Linked DNA regions of Homo sapiens: region 2 is linked to region 1. The links are contacts of gene promoters, found by promoter capture Hi-C in blood cells and fetal thymus (Javierre and others, 2016). All regions are on one chromosome and are shown on one strand. The core of a region is centred on a gene start or on the middle of the fragment in contact, and the rest is flanking DNA. Distances in the headings are between cores, read along the strand shown. Region 1 holds the start of CEACAM16-AS1 (CEACAM16, CEACAM19 and PVR antisense RNA 1). Region 2 holds the start of PVR (PVR cell adhesion molecule).

Evidence for each region. The method cuts DNA at HindIII sites, captures the fragments that hold promoters and counts their contacts. A CHiCAGO score of 5 or more calls a contact.
Region 2: the fragment with the promoter of PVR here is called in contact with the fragment with the promoter of CEACAM16-AS1 in region 1 in 2 of 17 cell types (monocytes and M0 macrophages); the score reaches 7.2 in monocytes.

What each region holds. Positions count from the first base shown.
Region 1 is chr19:44,723,768-44,729,943 of GRCh38, forward strand. It overlaps CEACAM16-AS1 (CEACAM16, CEACAM19 and PVR antisense RNA 1), which reads right to left and starts at 1,416. Exons shown (of 2, transcript NR_186815.1): 1 at 1,070-1,416. The HindIII fragment of the contact is 7,565 bases long and covers 1-5,890 here.
Region 2 is chr19:44,640,348-44,646,507 of GRCh38, forward strand. It overlaps PVR (PVR cell adhesion molecule), which reads left to right and starts at 3,563. Exons shown (of 8, transcript NM_006505.5): 1 at 3,563-3,828. The coding sequence starts at 3,750. RefSeq lists a silencer at 3,515-3,594. The HindIII fragment of the contact is 7,623 bases long and covers 721-6,160 here.

The sequences.
Region 1 (6,176 bases), core at 166-2,665:
AGAAGCCAGCCTTGTGGCCGGGTGTGGACTTCCTCCCAGGGCACCAGGGAGCCACTGCAGAGTTGTGAGCAAGGGACAGACAGAGGTAGGCTTGTACTTCCAAGAGACTCCCCCAGCTGCCACATGCAGGGTGAATGGAATGATGCACAGAATCCAGTTTCAGGGGTAGTTTGGTACTTGGACCCAGGTCCCAGGGAGAGAGTCCAAGGAGCCCTTCTCTGGTCTTCCAAGGAGCTGCTCTCCCCAAGCTCCGGATGGAAGGCGTGCCCATGGCAACCGCTAGGTGGTGCCCGTACACCACCAGCCAGGTCTTTTTTTGCCAAAAGTAGATCAGGCCCAGAGCTGGGCAGAACTGCCCCTGGGTCAGGAGAGCAAATCGTCTCTGTCTTTTGGTCCTGGCTCCCTGGCCAGGCATCCTGGGGCCATTTGACTCCCAGGCTCAGGAAGGAGCTGGCTGAGCTGCAGTGAGTATGTTCTTCGTCTCTTTCCTCACCTTGGAATCTCAGACGGGAGCACCCTGGCTCCCACTTCAGACAGGAAGATTCTTACCTCCCTCATCAGACTAGCAGGCTCTTTGTCTCCCCACCAGTTTGAGGGGCTCCCCATTTCTATCATTCATTTGGAAGCTCATCAGCTCTCCCAGAAGGCATGGGAGCCCTTCAACACCCCCATCAGACTAGGACTACCCATCTCCCCCATCAAATTAGAACTGCATTGTCTCACACATCAAAGTATCACTCCTGGCCAGGTGCAGTGGCTCCCGCCTGTAATCCAAGCACTTTGGGAGGCCGAGGCAGGAGGATCACCTGAGGTCAGAAATTCAAGACAAACCTGGCCAACACGGTGAAACCCGGTCTCTACTAAAAATAACAAATTAGCCAGGCGTGGTGGTGTGCGTCTGTAATCCCAGCTACTCAGGAGGCTGAGGCAGGAGAATCGCTTGAACCCAGGAGGCACAGGTTGCAGTGAGCCAAGATCACACCACTGCACTCCAGCCTGGGCGACAGAGCGAGACTCTGACTCACAAAAATAAATACATTGTCTTACACATCAGAATGTTGCTCCTTACCTCCCCTGGCAGACTGGAAATATAGACTGGACACTCGTTCTTGCTGCACAGGACTGGAGCTTCTTATCTTCTTCATTGGATTTGGACAGTCCTGTCTCCCTCATGGGATTTGGTGAGAGCTCCTTAGTTTCCTTATTTTTCCCACTGTGTTGGGCCACCTTGTCCCCACCATCAGATTGGGGAACACCTTGTCTCCCAGTCAGACCAGAGGGGCGGACTCCTCTGCCCTTGCAAAGGTTCCTAGGTCCTTCTTACATCCATAGGAGGAACCATGCCTATTTTACCAAGAGGGAAACTGAGGCACAGAGAAACAAAGCACCACTTCTCTGTCCAGCTGCAGATGCCTCCACCTCCCCCTCCGCCCGCTCCTCTGCCCCTGCCCTCCCCCGCCCCCGCCCCTGACCTGGGTAACTCCCCTGGCACCGGGAGTAGGGGAATTTTGCCCTGCTGGCCTCTGCACCAACCACCTCCCCTTATCGGCAGCGTCGCCACCAGTGGCGGCCCAGGGTTAAAGTCCGGAGAGAGCTCCGGGCGCGAAGCGGATAGGGAGGGAGGAGTGGCGCCCAACCCAGAACGGGGACTCCCCGGAGGTCGAGCCCTCACGCTGCTGGGAGGAGAGGGGATGGGCAGGGCCGTGTCCCATGGTAAGGTGTGGGTTCAATCCTTCCTTTCTAGTTCCCGGCTGTGTGGTCTTGAACCTGGAACTTCACCCCAACTGGGAGCCTCAGCTTCTCCAGCTTTAAGGAGTCAGGGGCGTGAAAATGTCCAAGCTCTGGAGTCAGACTCCAGGAGTTTGAATGCTGGCTCCTATAACCTGCTGTGTGAGATCTGGGGCCAGCGAGTGTGTCTCTCTCAGCCTCAGTTTCCCCAGCTGTGCAATGAGGATACCTAGTGGGTGGTGGTGAACGCTCCATGAGTTTACGCACAAGAAAACCTTGGGACAGTGGCTGATAGTGGCGCCAGCAAGCCAGCATGCACCCCACCCTTTCCTTCCAAGAAAATTGCCTCCTAAATCTATGATTGGTAACCTTCACCCCTCCCTCTTTGACCCACCTCCTAACCCAGGCCACCTGGTGTCTTGCTGCACAGCTGGTCTCCCTGCCCGCACCACACCCAGAGGCGTCCTTGGAAACCCAACCCTGACCCCTGGTCAGAATCTGCCATGGCTCCCCAGTGCCCCCAGGAGAAAGCCAAGTGCTGTGCCACAGCCACAGCCTGACCACTCACTGCTTGTATTTTTTTTTCTTTTTCTTTCTTTTCTTTTCTTTTTCTTTTTTTTTTTTTTTTTTTAAGACAGGGTCTTGCTCTGGCCCCAGGCTGGAATGCAGTGGTGCCATCATAGCTCACTGCAGCCTCAACCTCCTGGGCTCAAGCAATCCTCCCACCTCAGTCTCCTGAGTAGCTGAGACTACAGGCACATGCCACCACACCTGGGTAAATTTTTAAATTTTTTTTTTAGCGATAGGGTCTCACTCATTGCCCAGGCTGGTCTTAAACTCCTGGGCTCAAGCGATCCTCCCGCCTCAGCCTCCCAAAATGCTTGGACTACAGGTATGCACCACCGCGCCCAGCCTCCTTTCTGGTTTTCTAATAAAGCCTTTTGTTCACCTCCTTCAAACACTTCCCCATGCTCTTCAGGTCTCAGCTCAAACAGGCCAGGCCCGGTCCCCTGGGTCCTCTCTGTCCTCCGTCTCCTGGTTCCCTGTACCTCTCCAAAAGCCCCCACGACCAAAAGAAGTAAAGATGTAGGGCCGGGCGCGGTGGCCTACACCTGTATTTCCCAGCACTCTGGGAGGCTGAGGTAAGTGGATCACCTGAGGTCACGAGAACCGATTGAACCCCAGAGGCAGAGGTTGCAGTGAGCCGAGATTGCGCCACTGTACTCCAGCCTGGGCGACACAGAGAGACTCAACCTCAAAAAAAAAAAAAAAAAATGGTGGCTGGGCAAGGTGGCTTATGCCTGTAATCCCAGCACTCTGAGAGGCCAAGGCAGGCAGATCACTTGAGCCCAGGAGTTCGAGACCAGCCTGGGCAACATGGTGAAAACCCGTCTCTACAAAAAATACAAAACTTAGCTGGGTGTGGTGGCATGCGCCTGTAATCCCAGCTACTCAGGAGGCTGAGGCATGAGAATCGCTTGAATCCGGGAGGTGGAGGCTGCAGTGAGCCAAGATCATGCGACTGCACTCCAGCCTGGGTGACAGTGCAAGACTCTGTCTCAAAAAAAAAAAAAAGTTCCCACTCTGGTCCAGCCACCATCACTGAAGGCCCGGACCATGCAGTCACCTCCTCATGGGACTCCCTGCCTGGGTCCTTGCTGCACCTCCACAAGGACCTGTCTTTCCCCCACATGCAGCCACAGGGATCCTGTTAACACCTAAGTCATCAGAAGGCTGAGGCGGGAGGATCGCTTGAGCCCAGGAGGTCGAGGCTATAGTAAGCCAAGATGGCACCACTGTACTCCAGCCTGGGCAACACAGTGAGACCCTGTCTCTAAACAGTAATAATAATAACAAATTAAATTAAATTAAAACCTGGCCTGGGCATGGTGGCTCATGCCTGTAATTCCAGCACTTTGGGAGGCCGAGGCAGATAGAGTACCTGAGGTCAGGAGTTGGCCAACATGGTACCTGACCAACGTGGTGAAACCCTGTCTCTATTTTAAAAATATAAAAATTAGCTGGGCCTGGTGGCACATGCCTGTAATTCCAGCTACTCAGGAGGCTGAGGCAGGAGAATCGCTTGAACCTGGGAGGCGGAGGTTGCAGTGAGCCCAGATGGCATCACTACACTCCAGCCTGGGCGACAGAGCGAGACTCCATCTCGAAAAAAAATAAAAAATGAAGTCAGATTATCCCTCCCCTGCCCAGAACCCTCCATGGCTCCCATCTCCCTCTGAGTAAAAGCCTATGTCCCTACAGTGGCTCATAAGATCCTGAGCCATCTCCTTGCCACCCTTCCCCTCTCCCCATCCTCCCACTCTCCCCCAGCTCATCCTGCTCCAGCTACACTGGCCTCCAACAGCTGTTCCGACCCACCTCTGGGCCTTGGCACTTGCTGTTCCCTCTGCCTAGAATACTCTTCCCCCAGATGTCCACATGGTTCATTCCCTCCCCTCACTCAAGTCTTAGCCCCAAACGTCATTCCTTGGAGGGCCTCCCTTGGCCACCAGATTTAAACAACAGCTTCCACTTCCTATGCTCCATCTCCCTCATTCCCTCACCAGTTTTATTTTTCTCCATAGCAAATACATACCATTGGCTGTATTTTCCTTGTCTTGTTGACTGTCTCCTGGATGGATGGACGAGTCTGTGGCTCCCCAAGGGCAGGAATCTTAGTTGTTCAACACCAGGGCAGGGCCTGGAAAACCTGTTAGCAGAGTGAATGAATTGTGTGTGTGTTTTGAAAAGGTAAGGTGTTCACAAGTTCCAAAATTCAAAAAGGACCAAATGGCAGTGAGCTGTCACTTCCCCACCACGACTCTGCCCCTCCCTCCCCAGTCCTGTTCTCACCTCCCAGTTTCCGTTTTTTTGTTTTGTTTTGTTTTGAGACAGGGTCTCACTCTGTCACCCAGGCTGGAGTACAGTGGTGCCAGCATAGCTCACTGCTGCTTCCACATCCTGGACTCAAATGATCCTCCCACCTCAGCCGCCCTAGTAGCTGGGGCCATAAGCACGCACCACCATGCCCAGCTAATTTTTGTATTTTTGGTAGAGACGGGGTTTTACCACGTTGCCCAGGCTGATCTCGAACTCCTGGGCTCAAGTGATCCATCCACCTTGCCCTTGCAAAGTGCTGGGATTACAGGCGGGGGCCGCTTTGCAAATGGTGCACAGTCTTGCTGTGGCCTGCATTTTCCCCTAGCAATACAGCAATACATCTGGAAAATCACACCGCATCAGCACCTTCTTTTTTTTTTTTTTTTTTTTAATAATTGCATGCACAGTGTCGACTTGTGGACAGACGAGAGCTCTTGCCGCAATTGTTATTATATTTCAGGAGTGGTGTGGCGTGGTGCCTAAGACCTCAGTGTCATCTCTCAGACCCGGATTCACCTCGTAGCTCTACAGCCAGAACTCCCACAGGCTGCTGGTGGGCGTGCAAGCCCCGAGCAGCCACTTTGGAAAATGGTTTGCCAACTTCCCGCAAGGTTAAATACACACTTCCCATAGGATCCAACAATTTTATTCCTCGGTATTGACCCGAGAGAAATGAAAACCTATTTTCACACAAAAAAACTGTATGCACACACACTCACAGCAGCTCTGTTCATAATTGCCAACAACTGTAAACAACCCAAATGTCCTTCAGCTTGTATGTGGATAAGCGAGCTGTGGTCCATCCACACAATGGAATATCACTCAGCAGTGAAGACTAACTGCTATTGATACACACAACGTGGATGGACCTCAACTGTGTTATATTGAGTGAAAGAAGCTATGCTCAAAAATTACAGTGTTCAGCCGAGTGCAGTGGCTCACGCCTGTAATCCCAGCACTTTGGGAGGCCAAGGTGAGAGAATTGCTTGAGCCCAGGAGTTTGAGACCAGCCTGGGCAACATGGTGAGACCCCATCTCTATAAAAATATTGATGATGATGGTGATGATGATGATGATGATAATGATAATAACTACATTACTCCATTTACAAGACACTCTGAAAAAGGCAAAACTAGAGGGACAGAAAACAGACCTGTGGTTGCCAGGGGTGGGGTGGGGGATGGGCGTGACCCCAAAAGGGCAGATGAAGGGTTTTAGGGGTGGTGGGACATATCCATATTTTGATTCTGGTGGTGACTACACAGCCACATGAGCCTGTCAAAGCTTTAAGAACTGCATGCCCCACAGGCACTTCGAGAGGCCAAAGCAAGAGGCCAGGAGTTGAAGACCAGCCTGGGCAACATAGTGAGACCCCATCTCTACCATAAATACAAAAATTAGCTGGGCTTGGTGGCGTGCACTTGTAGTTCCAGCTAATGAGGAAGCTGAGGCGGGACGATCGCTAGAGCCTGAAAGGTTGAGGCTGCAGTGAGTGGTGATCGCACCGCTGCACTCCAGCCTGGGTGACAGAGTGAGAACATTCCTCAAAAAAAAAAAGAAAGAAAGAA
Region 2 (6,160 bases), core at 2,313-4,812, 81 kb before region 1:
CCCTTCTGGACAAAGCTTCACATCTGACATTTTCTTTTTTGGGGTGGACAGAGTCTTACTCTGTCACCGAGGCTGGAGGGCCGTGGCGCAATCATGGCTCATGGCAGCCTCAAACTCCTGGGCTTGAGGGATCCTCCAGCCTCAGCCTCCCAAGTAGCTGGGACTATGGGCATGTGCCACCACACCTGGCTAATTTTTTAATTTTTTGTAGAAATACAGGGGGTGGGGGCATATCTGAAAATTTTAAACCTTCCCTGACTGCCGTGAGCATTTCTGGGTAGAAGCCACTCCACGACCTTACTTTGCTGGCATGAGTGCTGGACAGCAATTTGGCAACATCCTCTAGACCACAAATGTGCATGGCCTTTGGCCCAGCAAATCAGCTTCTGGGAATAAATATGACAGATACTGTTACATACATGGGAAATGCCATGGACATGATGACCCAGGGAAGCACAGTTTGCAAGTACAAAAGGGCTGGAAACACCCAAAAAGCCCATCCCCTGAAGACAGTTTCAAAAATGACGGTGCATTCATGTAATGGAATAGTACACATTTGTGAATGAATGAATGAGGTAGCTCAATATATCTGCCTATGGGAAAATCACCAAGATATGTTGCTAAGTGAAAAACAGAAAGATACAGAATAATGCTACCATTTTATTTTTTAATGGGAGAGGGAAGAATAAGGAAATGGATTCATATTTGCTTAATTACACAAGCTTCCTGATGATCCTTTTGGATCCAGAAGTTTGAAAACCACAGCATCAAGAGGATGCCCATTGGGCATGGTGGCTCACGCCTGTAATCCCAGCACTTTGGGAGGCTGAGGAGGGTGGATCGCCTAAGTTCAGGAGTTCGAGACCAGCCTGGCCAACATGGTGAAACCCCATCTCTACTAAAAACACAAAAAAATTAGCTGGGTATGGTGGTGCAGGCCTGTAATTCCAGCTACTTGGGAGGCTGAGGCGCAAGAATCACTTAAGCCTGGGAGGCGGAGGCTGCCGTGAGCCGAGATCACGCCATTGCACTCCAGCTTGGGAGACAGAGCAAGACTGTCTCAAAACAAACAAACACACACAAAAAATAAGATGCCCATTGGAGATCTCCATTCACTATTTTATCAGATGATATTTCAGCACTTGAGTGAAGAAAATGTCTACAACTGGTCCAAACACTCAAGGAATTTAGACTCTTGACAGAGAAACACACAGAAGCAAGCAGATATGCCCCGAACCAAACTTGCTTTTTCTTCTAAGCCTGCTTCTTCGGAGCAGCCTCTGACCCTCCAGGGCCCTGAGAGGAGTCCCTGGAGCCACAGGAGCTTGGGAGCCCAGAGAAGTGGGGGAATCCCAGATGGTGACAGCATCATCCAGAGGAGGAACATAACGATGGCCACAGATTCCCAATTTGGAAATAACTCAGCAAAACAACACTGACAGAAAATTCAGAGATTTCCAAGAGACTAGCCTCCCTGTTTCCATTTAGAAATTCACCTACATACATCCAGGGTGAGAGACCCCAAGCATCAGATGTGTCATACACAAGCATCAGATCCAAGTTAGAGAGGGCACCCGGGGACAGAAACCTCCAAGCCAGCCAAAAGCCAAAGGAAGGATTTTACAGAAAGATACAGGAATGTGGGGCCAGGCACAGTGGCTCATGCCTGCAATCCTAGCACTTTGGGAGGCCGAGGTGGGAGGATCGCTTGCGGCCAGGAATTCAAGGCCAGCCTGAGCAACATAGCGAGATCCTATCTCTACAACAAATTTAAAAACTAGCTGGGTGTGATCACATATGCCTGTGGTCCCAACTACCCAGGAGGCTGAGGCAGGAGTTGAGCCCAGGAGGTGGAGGCTGCAATGAGCAATGATGGCGCCACTTCACTCCAGCCTCAGTGAAATAGTGAGACCCTGTCTAAAAATAATAATAAAAATAAAAAACATATAAAGATGTCAGAGCACAGGGACCAGAGCTGTTAGTCGGCCTCATGGAGACCCTGGCCAGGACAGCCACCTCTGGGGACCAGGAAGTCTCTCAGTTTCTGTCTCTGAGGGTTTGGCTCTCTGAGTCTCTCTGTCACCTCTCATTTCTCTCTCATCTCCCTCTGTCTATGCTGTGTCTCTATCTCTTTCAATCTCTCTGTCTCTGTCTCCCAGCCCTTATCTCTGAGTGTGTCTGTTTCTCTCTCATTTCTCTCTCTCTCTCTCTCTCTTTCTCTCTCTCTCTTTCTCTCTCTCTCTTTCTCTCTCCCCCCTCCCTCCTCCCCTCTCCCTACTGCAGGCTGGTCCATAACCCTTATCTTCCCCAGACCTGATGGAGTTCTGGTATTAATCTGTTTATGGTCTGTTTCCCTCCACTAGAACACGGTCTTCATTAAAGGCAGAGATTTTTGTCTGTCTTATTTTCTGCTGTATACCCAGTGCCTGGGATACTGGCTGGATCAATAAATATATGCTGAATGAAGAATGAATGAATGACCATTCTCATGAACATTATTATTTGATGCCAACTGTAAAGCAACAATAATAATAATTGTCACTGCCACTGCTGCTATTGTTGGTATATCAGCTTTTTATTTAGTACAAACTATATCCCCGAAATTGAGCTAGGCAGTTTCTTGTTTAAGTTTTACAGACCACGCTGTGAGGTAAGTACTGTTAGTATGCCCTTTTTTCTTTCTTTTTGAGACAGAGTCTCACTCTGTCGCCCAGGCTGGAGTGCAGAGGCCCGATCTTGGCTCACTGCAACCTCTGCCTCCCGGGTACAAGTGATTTTCCTGTCTTAGCCTCCCCAGTAGCTGGGATTACAGGCATGTGCCACCATGCCGGCTAATTTTTGTATTTTTAGTAAAGATGGGTTTTTGCCATGTTGGCCAGGCTGGTCTTGAACTCCTGGACCTCTGGTGATCCTCCTGCCTCGGCCTCCCAAAGTGCTGGGATTACAGGCGTCAGCCACTGCGCTTGCTCCCCCAGCCCCCAAACTTTTTTTTTTTTTTTTGAGACAGGTCTGGCTCTGCCACCCAAGCTGTAGTGTAGTGGCGCAATGGTAGCTCACTGAAGCCTCTAACTCCTGGGTTCACACAGTCCTCCTGCCTCAGCCTCCCAAAATGCTGGAATTCAGGCCTGAGCCACCGCGCCCTACTATGCCCATTTTTCAGATAAAGAATCTGAGGGCCCTCGAGGAGAAACCACTTGCCCAACATGAGCCCTGGTCTTGTCTGACCCCAAAGCCCATGGGAAGTTTAGGCTGCGTGGAAGGACAGCCTGGTGGGCTCAGGATCTGTCCCATCACGAGTTGGAACCTCAGCTCTGCCACTCGGCAACCGCGAGCCGTTAGTAAGTTGCTGAATCTCTCCGTGTGCCTCCGTTTCCTCACCTGGAATGTGGGCGACCTCACACAGGAAGCCGCCTCTTCTAGTGGGCACCGACGGAGCGAGCGCGCGTCTGCAGCGGGACTGAGCGCCGGGAGAGACCTGCGCAGGCGCAGGCGCGCGGGGAGGGCCAGCCTGGGTGGCCCACCCCGCGCCTGGCGGGACTGGCCGCCAACTCCCCTCCGCTCCAGTCACTTGTCTGGAGCTTGAAGAAGTGGGTATTCCCCTTCCCACCCCAGGCACTGGAGGAGCGGCCCCCCGGGGATTCCAGGACCTGAGCTCCGGGAGCTGGACTCGCAGCGACCGCGGCAGAGCGAGCGGGCGCCGGGAAGCGAGGAGACGCCCGCGGGAGGCCCAGCTGCTCGGAGCAACTGGCATGGCCCGAGCCATGGCCGCCGCGTGGCCGCTGCTGCTGGTGGCGCTACTGGTGCTGTCCTGGCCACCCCCAGGAACCGGTGAGTGACCCCCGCGCAGTCCGGTGGCCCCTGTCTGGCTCCCAGCTCCGCATCCAGGCCGGGTACTCGCCCCCTTGGGTTCCCGAAGATGACGGCCCCGCCCGGCGCCACCCACCCCCCATCTCTGCCCCGGGGTTGGAAGGAACACGGTGCGAGGGTGCGAGGGCAGGACCCTCCTCTTGGCCACCCGGAGAGCGGTCGGAGTTGGGTACAGAAATTCCTCGAAATTGGCAGCAACACGGGTCGGGCACAAGACCCTCCTCTGGGCCCCTCGGAAAGGGGATGGAGTTGGGTGAGGAAATTTCCCAAAAAGGCAAGTGAATCCCGGAAAATCAGCAGATGGTGACGCATGCCGGATTACCTTACCCAGGTTCCTGCTCAGCATACCCAGGCCATAACCCAGCAGCGTGCTGGCAGGCTGGGTCTGGACGGAGGGGATGGTTGATGTTGGGGAGGAGGACAGTGGGTGACACTTGACACCATTACCCCTCTGACCCCCAATGTCTGACTCCAGGGGCCTGGCCATTCATTCATTCTTTCATTCTTTTTTTTTTTTTTTTGAGACAGTCTCACTCCATCACCCAGGCTGGAGTGCAGTGTCCTGCTCTCGGCTCACTGCAGCCTCCTCCTCCCGAGTTCAAGCGATTCTCCTGCTTCAGCCTCCCGAGTAGCTCGGATTACAGACATGTGCCACTATGCCTGGCTAATATTTTTGTATTTTTAGTAGATACAGGATTTCACCATGTTGGCCAGGCTGGTCTCAAACTCCTGATAAATATATATATTATATATTATTATTATATATTACATATTATAGTAATATATAATAAAAATATATAATATATATTATAGTAATATATAATATATAATAAAATATATAATATATATTATAGTAATATATAATATATAATAAAATATATAATATATATTATAGTAATATATAATATATTATAATATATTATATATATTATTATAATATATAATATGTATATTATATATTATATATATTATTATAATATATAATATGTATATTATATATTATATATATTATTATAATATATAATATGTATTATGTATTATATAATTGATAATATATAATAATATATTTCTTAATAAATATATATTAAATATATTATATATTTATAACATATATTATTTATATAATAAATAATATATATTTTATTATACATTTAAAGAGTAAATAGATAACATATTTTATTATTTATTTATATGTTTTGTGTATATATATATATATATATATATATATATAGTGCGTGTGTGCGTGTATGTGTGTGTGTGTATGAGAGAGACAAGGTCTTGCTTTGTTGCCCAGGCTGGAGTGCAGTGGTACAATCCCGGCTCATTGCAAACTCGACTTCCCAGGCTCAAGCGATCCTCTCACTGTGGCTTCTGGAGTAGCTGGGATTATAGGTGCTCACCTGGCTAATTTTTTTTGTATTTTTGGTAGAGACAGGGTTTCGCTATGCTGCCCAGGCTGGTTGCAGCCAAGCACAGTGGCTCATGCCTGTAATCCCAACACTTTGGGAGGCTGTGGTGGGAGGATCACTTGAGCTTAGGAATTCAAAACCAGCCTGGGCAATATGGCAAGACCCCATCTCTACAAAAATAATTAACTAAATAAAAATTTAAAAATAAAAAAGAATGCATAGGACCATGTTTATTAGTGTCAATAAGCGCTGTCACATTTTGAGGACCTACTATGTGCTAGGGCCCTTAGCAGAAAGATTTTTATATAGGACCTGGGGGATTAGAGGTCAGTCTCTGACCGCCCAAGTTCAAATCCCACCTCTGCCACTAAACCTCTGTATGACTTGGAGGACACTATACTCTGTGTCAGTTTCCCTGTCTGTAAAATGATGTTAACAGTAGTGCTTGCCTCAGGGGGGCTATTTGAGGATTAAATGCCAAGATATATGTGAAGCACCCAGAATAGCCCCTGATCTGTGTCAGCACCCTGTGAGTGTCCACTGTTCTAAGTCTCATTTTACAAACTAGGAAAAAGAATCAGAGAGGTTAAGTAACCGGCCTGAAGCTCCACAGCAGAAAACTGAAGGGACCCAAAACTCCTGGGCTATAATTGCCTTCCTCTCGTGCCTCAATCCCCCACATTCTTCCAACCAGGACCCACCCAGAGTAATAATGCAGTGTTTCATGGATTTGAAGACCCAAGATTTCTCCCCGTTTTCTACATTGGGGTTATTCTAACCCCTAATGGCAAGTTGTGCTATAAATGACAACAGTCATGGTATGTGAAACCTACGACACTGGTGCGATGAAAAAGTTCTGGGCCAGGTGCGGTGGCTCATACCTG